2 separate regions of the Homo sapiens genome follow, and region 1 is linked to region 2. Evidence: promoter capture Hi-C in human tissues and cell types (Jung and others, 2019). All regions are on one chromosome and are shown on one strand. Each heading gives the region's core, a stretch centred on a gene start or on the middle of the fragment in contact. The rest is flanking DNA. Distances are from core to core; before and after follow the strand shown. Region 1 overlaps RBAK-RBAKDN (RBAK-RBAKDN readthrough). Region 2 holds the start of PAPOLB (poly(A) polymerase beta).

The links. Contacts are between HindIII fragments. The study calls those that stand out against the background at their distance.
Region 1: a fragment that was not itself captured here is called in contact with the fragment with the promoter of PAPOLB in region 2 in 1 of the 25 tissues and cell types used here (dorsolateral prefrontal cortex).

What each region holds. Positions count from the first base shown.
Region 1 is chr7:5,054,425-5,060,011 of GRCh38, forward strand. It overlaps RBAK-RBAKDN (RBAK-RBAKDN readthrough), which reads left to right. Exons shown (of 6, transcript NM_001204513.3): 3 at 2,871-2,997; 4 at 3,260-3,355. It overlaps RBAK (RB associated KRAB zinc finger), which reads left to right. Exons shown (of 5, transcript NM_021163.4): 3 at 2,871-2,997; 4 at 3,260-3,355. Among named protein-coding and RNA genes, the nearest start is that of RBAK-RBAKDN, 11 kb to the left of the region's middle. The HindIII fragment of the contact is 6,513 bases long and covers 1-5,587 here.
Region 2 is chr7:4,858,950-4,864,314 of GRCh38, forward strand. PAPOLB (poly(A) polymerase beta) reads right to left here and starts at 3,081. Exons shown (of 1, transcript NM_020144.5): 1 at 1-3,081. The coding sequence starts at 2,861. The coding sequence ends at 948. The region is part of intron 2 of RADIL (Rap associating with DIL domain); the gene reads right to left. RefSeq lists an enhancer at 2,324-2,936. The HindIII fragment of the contact is 5,879 bases long and covers 859-5,365 here.

The DNA of each region.
Region 1 (5,587 bases), core at 1,312-3,811, 190 kb after region 2:
ATTGCTTCATATATGTTCTCCGTTTTATTTTTCTTTCTGTTTTTGATTTTGTTGTTGCTGCTGTTCTTTGTTATGTGCCATTTCAGGTTGGAGGGTATATCCAGTACCTGTTAGTTTATCACAACTGAGGGCAGAAGTCCTCATGTCTCTCTCTATATATATTTTTTCTAATATATATATTTTTTTCTTTGTAGAGACAGGGTCTTGCTATGTTGCCAAGGCTGGTCTCAAACTCCTGGCCTCAAGCAGTCCTTCTGCCTCAGTTTCCTGAGTGCTGGGATTACAGGCATGAGCCACTGCACCTGGCCTGGATCCAGTTTTGTCCATGTCCAAATGGTGTTTTTCCCTGAGCTGTTTTTGATTTTCTTCCACCTCATATGAACTGTAGTGTCAGCTTATCTAGTTCCAGGAAAAAGCTTTTTGGTATTTTTACTGGGGTTGCATATTTATAAAGTAATTTAGGGTAACTGACTTACCCTAGGTAGGGTAAGTTGACCTTAATAATACAACTAATTTTTTTTGTTTGTTTGTTTTTTAGTAGAGATGGGGGTTTCACCATGTTGACCAGGCTGGTCTTGAACTCCTGACCTCGGGTGATCTGCCCGCCTCGGCCTCCCAAAGTGTTGAGATTACAGGCGTGAGCCACCGTGCCCGAGCACTTTTACTTTTTCTTAGTTATATTCCTCTAATTGTTTTATCTTCTCTAATTGTAGATAATGAGCATTTTATTAATACCTTGTTCTTGATCTTAGTAGGAAGGTATGTAGTTTTTCCCTGTTAAGTAAAATCCTGACTTTTGGACCGAGAAGACTGAGGCATAAATGTGTGTGTGTGTGTGTGTGTGTGTGTGTGTGTGCGTGCGTGTATATACACACAAACTGTATATATATGTGCTTGTGTGTAATTGAAATACATATGTCACATATATATCATACATACTATTGCATATTAGGGTGCAATATTTATATTTGTGTATATACATGTTATTGATGTTAATGAAGTATCCATCAGTTTCTATTTTCTTTAGTTTGTTTTTTTAAATCAGCTTTTTCTGTCAAGCTTTTTCAGGTATCTTCACGGATACAAGATTTTTCTTCTTTGCTGTGTTATAGTGGCTTATCATATTAATAGATTTCCAAATATTAAACTAGTCTATATTATTGGAATAAGTCCCATTTGGCTATTGTATATTATGTTTTTAATCTGGTACTGGATTTTGTTTGATTATGTTTCATTTTGGGTTTTTGTATTGATGTAAGTGGTATTGGCATGTAATTTTATGTTATTTATTGGTTGATCAGTCTTCTAACCCCTACTACCTCCTTGCCTTCTGGACTAACTTAACCCAGAAGGTTATTACTCTCTCTCGGTGATTTTATCAGCTCCTGTGGCCTGACTGTGGATAAGCTTGGATGTTCTGCTTTAGTTTCTCAGCCCACAGCCTAGCGGCCCTGCCTCTGCTATCTCTTGGGATCTACATGGTCCTAGCTGTATCACTGGATTTGAACCCCTTGTTGATATGTTCTTTATAAATAATAGGATAATGCAGCCTGCTTACTGGGCACTTCCTTTTTCTAAACTACAAGTTTGGGCAGGGCGTGCTGGCTCAAGCCTGTAATCCCAACACTTTGGGAGGCCAAGGCAGGTGGATTGCTGGAGCCCAGGAGTTTTGCATTTTTCTTTTTTTTTTTTTTTTTTTTTGAGACAAGGTCTCACTCTGTTGCCTAGGCTGGAGTGCAGTGTTGCATTCACAGCTCACTGCAGCCTTGACCTCCCAGGCTCAAGTGATCCTCCTGCCTTAGCCTCCCAAGTAGCTAGAACTACAGGCGTGTGCCATGATGCCCAGCCAATTTTTTTTTTTTAATTTATTTTTAGCAGAGATGAGGTCTTACTATGTTGCCCAAGCTGGTCTCGAACTCCTGAGCTCAAACGATCTTCCCATCTTGGCCTCCCAAAGTGCTAGGATTATAGGCATGAGCCACCATGCCCAGCCCCAACCACTTAAAAATTGAAGCTGCTTCCCGTTTGCCATTGGTACTTTGTACACCTCATCATATTCTTCTTCCCCTTCATCCCATAGAATGCACAATTCATCTTTAAAGACTTCAAGTTAACTGAGTCTGTGAAGCCTAATCTGATGGCATAAAATTAAAATAATTTGATCCTCTTTTGTTAAATCATTCTGCACCTTGTCTGCATTACTCTAATAACAGCTTTGGGCATTCATTCATTTAACGAATATTTATTGCTCCAAGATTGAGATGTTTGAGATAAAACTCAGCCATGCAGATAGCCAGAGGCCACTGGCTATGAGAATAAAAGAGCCAAAAGAACAAGGAGCTGAAACTAGGTGAGAGCCCCAGAGCAGTGAGTTAGGAGGAAGAGGACCAGGAGCTGAGTGGTGGGCACTCCAACATGAAGAGGTCCAGGGCAAGGGGAGGGCCTGGCAGCAAGGAAGACTAAAAGAAGTGACAAGGAGTAAAATGCTTGTGTTTGTTTACATGTTTATCTCCTTTTTAGGTTGTTCACTTTGGGAGCAGGCATGGTGTTTCACTCATCTCATGTCCCCAAAGCTCAGCTAGTTCACTTGCAAAATAGGAGCTCAGTTGTGTTTTGGGTTTTTATTTTTGTGGGGCAATATATATATATTTTTTATATATATTATATATATTTATATATATTATATATTTTATATATTATGTATTATAACCCCAAAGGATATGTGTTTCCAATATGATTTCCCTTCCATAATCTGTAACATAAAATAAGGTATACAATGTTTATGGTTAACTTTACCGGTGGGCTTTGTAAAACGTTATCCCCCTATCCCTTTTCCGTATCTCCCAATTCTGATCATGTTGCCATTACAGGGGCCAGTGTCATTCAAAGATGTGGCTGTGGATTTCACCCAGGAGGAGTGGCAGCAGCTGGACCCTGATGAGAAGATAACTTACAGGGATGTGATGTTGGAGAACTATAGCCATCTAGTTTCTGTGGGTGAGAATAGCTTGCTTTCTGAATGCTCTCAGTTGAATGGGGTTTTATCCTTGAGTTTGAAGAAATAAGTGATGACACCATTTAATTCCTTGTGGGCACTAGCTGGAGTGTTTATATTATTATTCATTGAAAGGTTCTAACTTTGATAAGGTAAAAAATGGAGCACTTCTGTTATGCAGCTTATGAGGTGGCAACATCTTGTACTTCAGAGATTCTGAAGCCAAGCAGCTTCCCCAAGTCCTCCTTCTTTTCCCATTAACAGGATATGATACCACCAAGCCAAACGTCATCATTAAGTTGGAGCAGGGAGAGGAGCCGTGGATAATGGGAGGTGAATTTCCATGTCAACATAGTCCAGGTAAGTTAGTAGCGTATCAAAGGTTAAAAAATGCTCATCCCAGACCTTTGGGAGAGACTAAAGAGTTGTTTATATGTATTCAGTACCCTCAGTAACACCTCCCAACCCCCAAATATCACTTTCCTTCCCGCACACATACATGAACTCTTTTGTTGATTTTACATTTGATTTACATTGGTAGGGATTTTTTCATTCTAACCGGTACTGGAGACCCATTCACTTCCTCTTTCTCCAGCATTATTGGTAACTTATTTACTCCCTTGCCATTACAGAATTGTTTTGGGTTTGTTTGTTTGTTTGTTTGTTTGTTTTGGAGACAGAATCTTGTTCTGTCACCCAAGCTGGTGTGCAGTGGTATGATCTCAGCTCACTGCAACCACCACCTCACAGGTTCAAGCGATTCTCCTTCCTCAGCCTCCCAAGTAGCTGGGATTACAGGCACATGCCACCACGCCTGGCTAATTTTTATATTTTTAGTAGACACAGGGTTTCACCATGTTGACCACACTGGTCTTGAACTCCTGGCCTCAAGTGATCTGCCCACCTCAGCCTCCCAAAGTGCTGAGATTACAGTCCTGAGGCTCCCGGCCTTACAGAATTGTTTTGTTTTGGGGCATTCAGAAGTCTGACATAAAAATCAACTTGAGACTTTTATGTTCATTCCTTTTATCTTCCATTTTCTTTCCTTCCTTGCTTTAAAAATACCTTGGACTTATTTTCTGCCCTCGATTTTATTTACTTCTTTAGGCATTCAGATACCAAAACCTCATCCTCCACCTATGCTTGTGAACTGAGTCACAGCTTGTGGTGTCTGTTATTTCCCAAAGTCCATGCTCAGTTGATGTGACGCTATAGCACTCCCTCAGCCTTCGTCTCTTTCCCCACTGCTCATGACCCGTCTGTGTGTTCATTTCCCCTTCCCCATAACTGGAATCATGCTCTGTCCATAGTAGACATTCAGGAAGTGTGAATTTCATAAGTGAATGTCGGTTCCTTTTCTTGCCTTTTCAGGACTGTCCCCCTAGGACCTGTTTTCCACTTTTTTGGTTTTCTTTGTATCCCTTAAAAGAGTTTATCTAATCTCACCTTCTAAGACCTTTTTTCCTGTGTATTTTTGCAGCTTGCCTCCAAATTGATACGTCTGACACTTTTAACCTGGAGTCTAGTTGAATATTTTACTTGACAACATAGCAGTTACCAGGGAGATAGTTCACTTCCTTCTTTCTCAGAATGTCTGATGATAAACTGTGCACATTCCAAAATCATGAATTCTGTCTACCTTCCTCACCTCCCAGTATTTGATTGTGCTAGTCTTGTCTCCATGGTTTGTGTTCTTTGTCTTCTGTGAAATGCCTGGCAGAGCGTCAGCACATTCTGTTTCTTTCGACATTCGTGTTCAGTATTCTCCCATACCTGGATTTCAGTGGATCCATCTTCCATTCAAATGATCATTGTCCTTTTCCTTCATCTGCATTTTACTTGCCCACATAATACATATTTTCCCTCCCTTTCTTCCTCTCCTCCCTCTCTCCCTTCCTTCATTCCTTCCTTCCATTTTGAGACAGAGTCTCACTCTTGTCGCCCAGGCTGGAGTGCAATGGCATGATCTCGGCTCACTGCAGCCTCCCCCTCCCAGGTTCAAGCGATTCCCCTGCCTCAGCCTCCCAAAGTAGCTGGGATTACAGGCGCACGCCACCATGCCTGGCTAATTTTTATATTTTTATTAAAAAAAAAACCACACATAACATACAATTTACCATCATAACCATTTTTAAGTATACAGTAATGTTAACTGTATTTGCATTGTTGAGCAATAAACTTTAGAACTTTATGCTTTACATTTGAACTGAAAAGGTTAGCTCCTTGAAGTTTCCTTCATGGTTCATTGACCACTCCAGTCTTTCCTTCTCTTAATATCTATTCCAGTCAGCGATTGTTACCTCAAAAAGTTAGATATGATTTTACAGTCCGATAGGATTATATGCTCTAAGATCATATTCTCTGATAGGAGTGTATGCTCTATGAATATAAGCTCTAAGATTGTGTGCTCTGTGATTATATGCTCTGATAGGATTATATATTCTAAGATTATATGCTCTGATAGGAGTGTATGCTCTATGAGTATAAACTCTGATGGGATTATATATTCAAAGATTATATGTTCTGATAGGATTATATGCTGTGATAGGAGTGTATGCTCTATGAGTATATGCTCTGTTAGGATTATATGCT
Region 2 (5,365 bases), core at 1,831-4,330:
GCTTTGATAGCTCAAAGAAAATGTTTGATTGCTAATTACTCTAAAACAGTTCTACAGATTAAAACCAGTGTGTCCTTTCTCCATAGTGTGCCATCAAAACCAAAGACCTACTAATGGTTGATGTCAAAAACATACCTTAAAGTTGACATTTCATTTTAAAGGGTTACAGCTACCTCATAGGGACTGAGCTAGATGTACTTTTATGCTTTCTCTGAAGTACAGTACACCGCTGCACAATGGTATCCAATTTTAAGATTAATAGTGAAGAAACCTCTTCAGGGAAAAATAAAATTCACCAATTTGAAAAATCTAAAATTAGTTCTACTTTCTAATAAAAAATATAAAGTGCCTCATCAGTATAAGGAATTCTGATACCAGTTTGTATTGCATATTTTCCCAACAATGCATCAAGCATAAATCCAGTCCAGATGTCAGTCACGGGTACAAACATAGCTGAAAGGTTTTTTCATTTTAAGGGCAGTAGTCCTTTGAAATAGTTAATGTAACTGTTGCTGATACATTAATAACAGTACCTCTAGCTGTCACATACTAATGTGGACTTCTGATCAAGACTGGCTCAGTAAAGGAAGTTACCAAATGAGCCTCAATCTATTTCAAGTCATATCTAGTCCCGTACCCCTCATTCTCCTTCCTTAGTATTTGAAGACAACAGGTTCAGTTGGCAGATATTGTTCATGGACCCTTGAGGTTGTTTTTAACCATTCAACCTGTTTTACTGAATTCTTGATAACAGGAATTGGATTTGCAGGGAGAACAGGGATACCGGAAAGATCTATACTGATGTTCCCTGAGAGGCCAATAGAGAAGATGCTGTCTGAATTTTTCTAATGGAGTTGTACTTGTCTTTGTATTGAGTTTCTCCTCTTCCGTTTTGGTTTTCTTGGTCCTTTCTTCTTTATGAGGCAAGAATATCCTCTAGACTCCAACTATAGGATTAGATATGTTTGTTGCTGAGTTTCCTGAAGGTCTGGATGGCTTATGAGACATGTTGAAGAAACAACTCTGGCGACCATGGCCTTTGGTGATGGAGAAATGGCAGGCTGAGAGACAGCGTGAGGAATACTTTCGTTTAATGCAACCCCTGAACTTTCATTGGTATTCACCTGTTGCAAGGAAAATTCAGTAGCCTGTATGTTAGCCACAGATGCTGTCATTACAGCCAAGGCAGGACTGTTTCTACCCTGAGAACTGCTAATCAATGGGCCTGTCTTCATAGTGCTAGTAGATGAAGGCACAGACATGCTGTTTTCACAGCCTGCAGACAAGTCAAAGCTGCTGTCGTTCAAATCTGTCAATCTTCTACCTTCTGTTGAGTGTGCTTTCTTGTCCTGAAGCACATGATGAGGCAGCAGCTGGTGAAGTTCCTTTCTTCTTAAATGCATTGCAGTAATTTTCATACCCATCTCAAACATCTTACTATTCACTGCTTGCCTATAAACAGTATCTGTGAAAGACTGGATATCATAGGTGAGATCAATGCTGAGAATTTCAGAATTATCTGGCTTTTTTAGCCCTAACCCAATCACCCACATTGTACGAAATTCTTCCATATCAGGATTTTCTTTGGGTGCTGGAAATGACTGTGGATTCACATGTGCCAGTGTAATAAATTCATTCTTCTCCAAGCTCCCAACCAGGATTCGGATCTTTGATTCCACCAAGCCCACCCATTCTAAATGTTGTTTTTCTGTTGATGCACTTGCCAGAAGTACAATATAATGCTTGTACTTTTGAAAGAAGCTTGGAGCTTCAAAGAGTTTGGACCACTCTGCCTTACTTAGCAAAATCTCGTGTGTGATAGCAAGCCCCTGTTTAAACTCCTCAATCATGACCATCCTGGTTGAAATAGACACGTTGTATGTGGAGTTCTGCTGTGGGTATGCTGGTGTGATGATAGGCATAAGATGGTACCTATCACTGGGATTTACTCTTGGGTCCCATACAGGCAAATTAAGATTCCGTTCTTCAGGCTCCTTCAGTAACACTGGGTTTGGCCATTCCCATTCTGAAAATACCAAGAAGAATTTCCGTACAAGAGTTGACGCTACTGCATTTGGATAAAGCTGACAAGTTCTTGCTACTAGCATGGCCCAGGAAACACCTCCGAGGAAACCTAATATATTGGAATAGATATTGTGGCACTTGGCCCACAGTTTGATGGCTCTCAGAGTCAGCCTGAAGTTGTCAATGTTTGGCACTAGATGTAAAATTTCATCGGTTACCCGGCAACCATTAAGGCTTCTTATGCATCTAATGTCTAAATTTTTAAGTAGACTGTCATCTCTTAAGTCCAAATCTTCTGGAATAGTCTGTAGTGCTAATCTTGCAAATAAAATATCAATCTCTATCCCATCAAAACACAGTTTGATAACTGGCACAAATGCCTCCTCGACAGCCCTTAAATCTTTCACTTCCTCCTGTAGTTTCAGTTTAGCATAGAATGAGGTGAAAAAGTCGCTTCGATCCACATGACTTGGTGCAACGCACAAGGCGTCAATATCTGCGCCTTTCGTATGTACTCCTAATCTGTAAGAGCCAAACGTAAAAATCTTTCCTCCAACGTTTTCAATTACAGACTGGGGAAGACTCTTGCTTTCACTGATTTCGCGTATCCATTCCTTTACCAGATTATTTAATTTTTCCAAAACTAAAATCCTGCGCTGCAGTTCCTCTTCCTCTTCGAAGACCCCGAAGGGCCTGAGGGTTTCTATTAGCCTCTGGGTGAGGAGGCAGTCCGTCTCCTTGGGGACCGCTAGACTGATAGGCGAGGAGACGCCGTAGCGATTCGGCGGCGGCGCCGGCTGCGGTGGTCCCTGGGTTGTCACCGGAAACGGCATCATCTTTCAGCGCCCGCCCCGCCAGGGCACGTCCCCCACCACCGCGACCTTCGCGGCCGCCGCCCGGGTCATGATCCGCTGAGGCGGAAGGGCAGGGCTTCTAGCTGCCCTGGTCCGACCCCACTCCCACTCCCGCTGCGCGCCCGCCGCTTCAGGAGCTTCTCCTCCTTCCCCTCAGCCCCAACATGGCGCCAGACCCCTCAGCGGCTGCGTTCCAGAACCTACCGTACACGCGCGGGCGCCTGCGCACCCGCCGCCAGCGCGAGGGCTCACGGGAGCCACAGCGTTCTGGGCTGGGGCTCCTACCGCTGCGCGGGGGGCTATACATGGGGGTGGGCAGGATTCACGTTGTTGATGACCGGCCAAACTCAACCCTTTATTGCCACTATTTTACATATTTGCCCAACTTTACCCATCTAATTCTTTGCTCTCCAAGTCCCTTGACATCGCAGATGTGCATCCTTTTTGGGGGCACCCTCAGCACTCTTCACCCTAGCGTGCACCCTTTGGAAGTCCAAAGACCCCTTCGTGGTGGGAACCCGCGGTGGAAAGCAGCTTCTGTCTTGTTTCTTGGGCCGTTGCTGGACATTGGTTTAGCTGGGGCAGCATTTCGAGGTCGACATTTGTGTTCTGGCCATGCTTTAAGGGCGCGATACTGCTGTCCTCTGGTTCCCGTTGAGAATTCCGCAGCTAGGTGAACTACTGCTCGTCTGTCTTTTCTTATGGCAGCTATAAAAGTGTCTGTCCCTAGTGCCCTGTGATCCCACCACTGTGTGTCCAGGCATAGATTTCTCTTTAATAATCTTACCCAGGCTGGGCGCAGTGGCTCACGCCTGTAATCCCAGCACTATGGGAGGCCGAGGCGGGCAGATCACCTGAGGTCAGGAGTTGGAGACCAGCCTCAACATGGAGAAACCCCGTCACTACTAAAAATACAAAATTAGCCGGGCGTGGTGGTGCATGCCTGTAATCCCAGCTACTCGGGAGGCTGAGGCAGGAGAATTGCTTGAACCTGAGAGGCAGAGGTTGCGGTGAGCCAAGATCACACCATTGCACTCCAGCCTGGGCAACAAGAGTGAAACTCTGTCTCAAAAAAAAAAATAAAATTAAAAATAAAAATAAAAAATAAAAAATATAATCTTACCCAGGATACACTATGATTCCCGAATCAGAAGTCATGCTTTTTATGATCTCCAGAAGCTTCTTGGGCACTTCCTGGGAATATGTTCTCCCACTTGTCTCCTGATTCTCTTCATCTAGACACGTTGTCAACCTTCTCACTCTGTCCTCCATGTCTCTTAAGCCGTGTGTCTTTCTGGGTGATGCCAGATTACCTCCAAGTCCTCTCTTCAGTTGTATTTAGTCTGCTGTTTAAGCATCATTGAAATATCCACTTAAATACTTATATTTCACTATTTTGTTCTTTTCCAAGCTTCTCTGCCTTTTAGATGGCATTCTGTTCTTTCATGTTTTTCCCCCTACCTTTTATTTCTTTAAACGTGTTAAACATACTTATTTAGTACTCTATAACTAATTATTCTAATTCCGAATGCTCTTGAGAAACTGTATAGTTTGTTGTTATCCAAGAACTCAGAGTGGTATTACCTCTTGGGTCTTGTAATTTTGGATTGTGAGCTCATTTCTGGTGAAGCTTGGAATGCCTGTGTAGACGCTGTGTCCTTCCAAAGAGGATTTGCTTTGTTTCCAGTAGATGTTCTTGTACACTATAGAATTGCAGTCAGTGTAATTTCTTATCCAGGGATTATCCACAACATCTAGATGGTGCAACTTTGAACCCCAAATACATGTAAGAGGACATGTGGTTTTCATTTTTAAGGAACAGTCTTTAGTTTTTCCCACCCAAGTCAAGAGAGAGAACTTCCTTTGCCATCTCCTTTCACCAGGTAGCAGATTCTTCTTACTCCATTTTTTCACTCAATGTGTCACCCTTTGAGGATTCCAATTGTATTTGGAGGGGTCTCAATTCTAACTCCCTACCTTTTAAGGTCCCAAGAGCTTTCTGTCTCTTCTTGGACAGCTGCTAAACTTAAGTTTCTCAGTTTCCAAGACTGGCCAATGCCTCTAGGGCGGTTCTAGTTTCAGAATCAGCTACAATCCTGAGGTTTCAAGGTATCCCTTTTTCTTCCAGCCCTAGAGACTTCCTTTATTTTCCTGGGTACTCAGCTATGCATTCAAAAAAATGATTTCTTATATTTATCCAACATTTCCAGGCACTTTACATAGAAAGATTTTCTGGGATAATTAATCCCATATATTGCCAGAAATATAAATACCTTCTTTTTAATCCATTTCAACATTGGCTTACATGCTCAAAAACAGCTATCAGCAAGGTCTTTGGTGACCTCCATGTTGCCCAACCCATGACCCCAATGATTTCCATCTTCTTTGACCTATGGTAGCTTCATCTTGGCCTCTGCGACACCATACTCTTTGTCTTCCACATGTCTGGCCAGTCCTCAGTCAAATTTGCTGATTCCTCCTCCTTT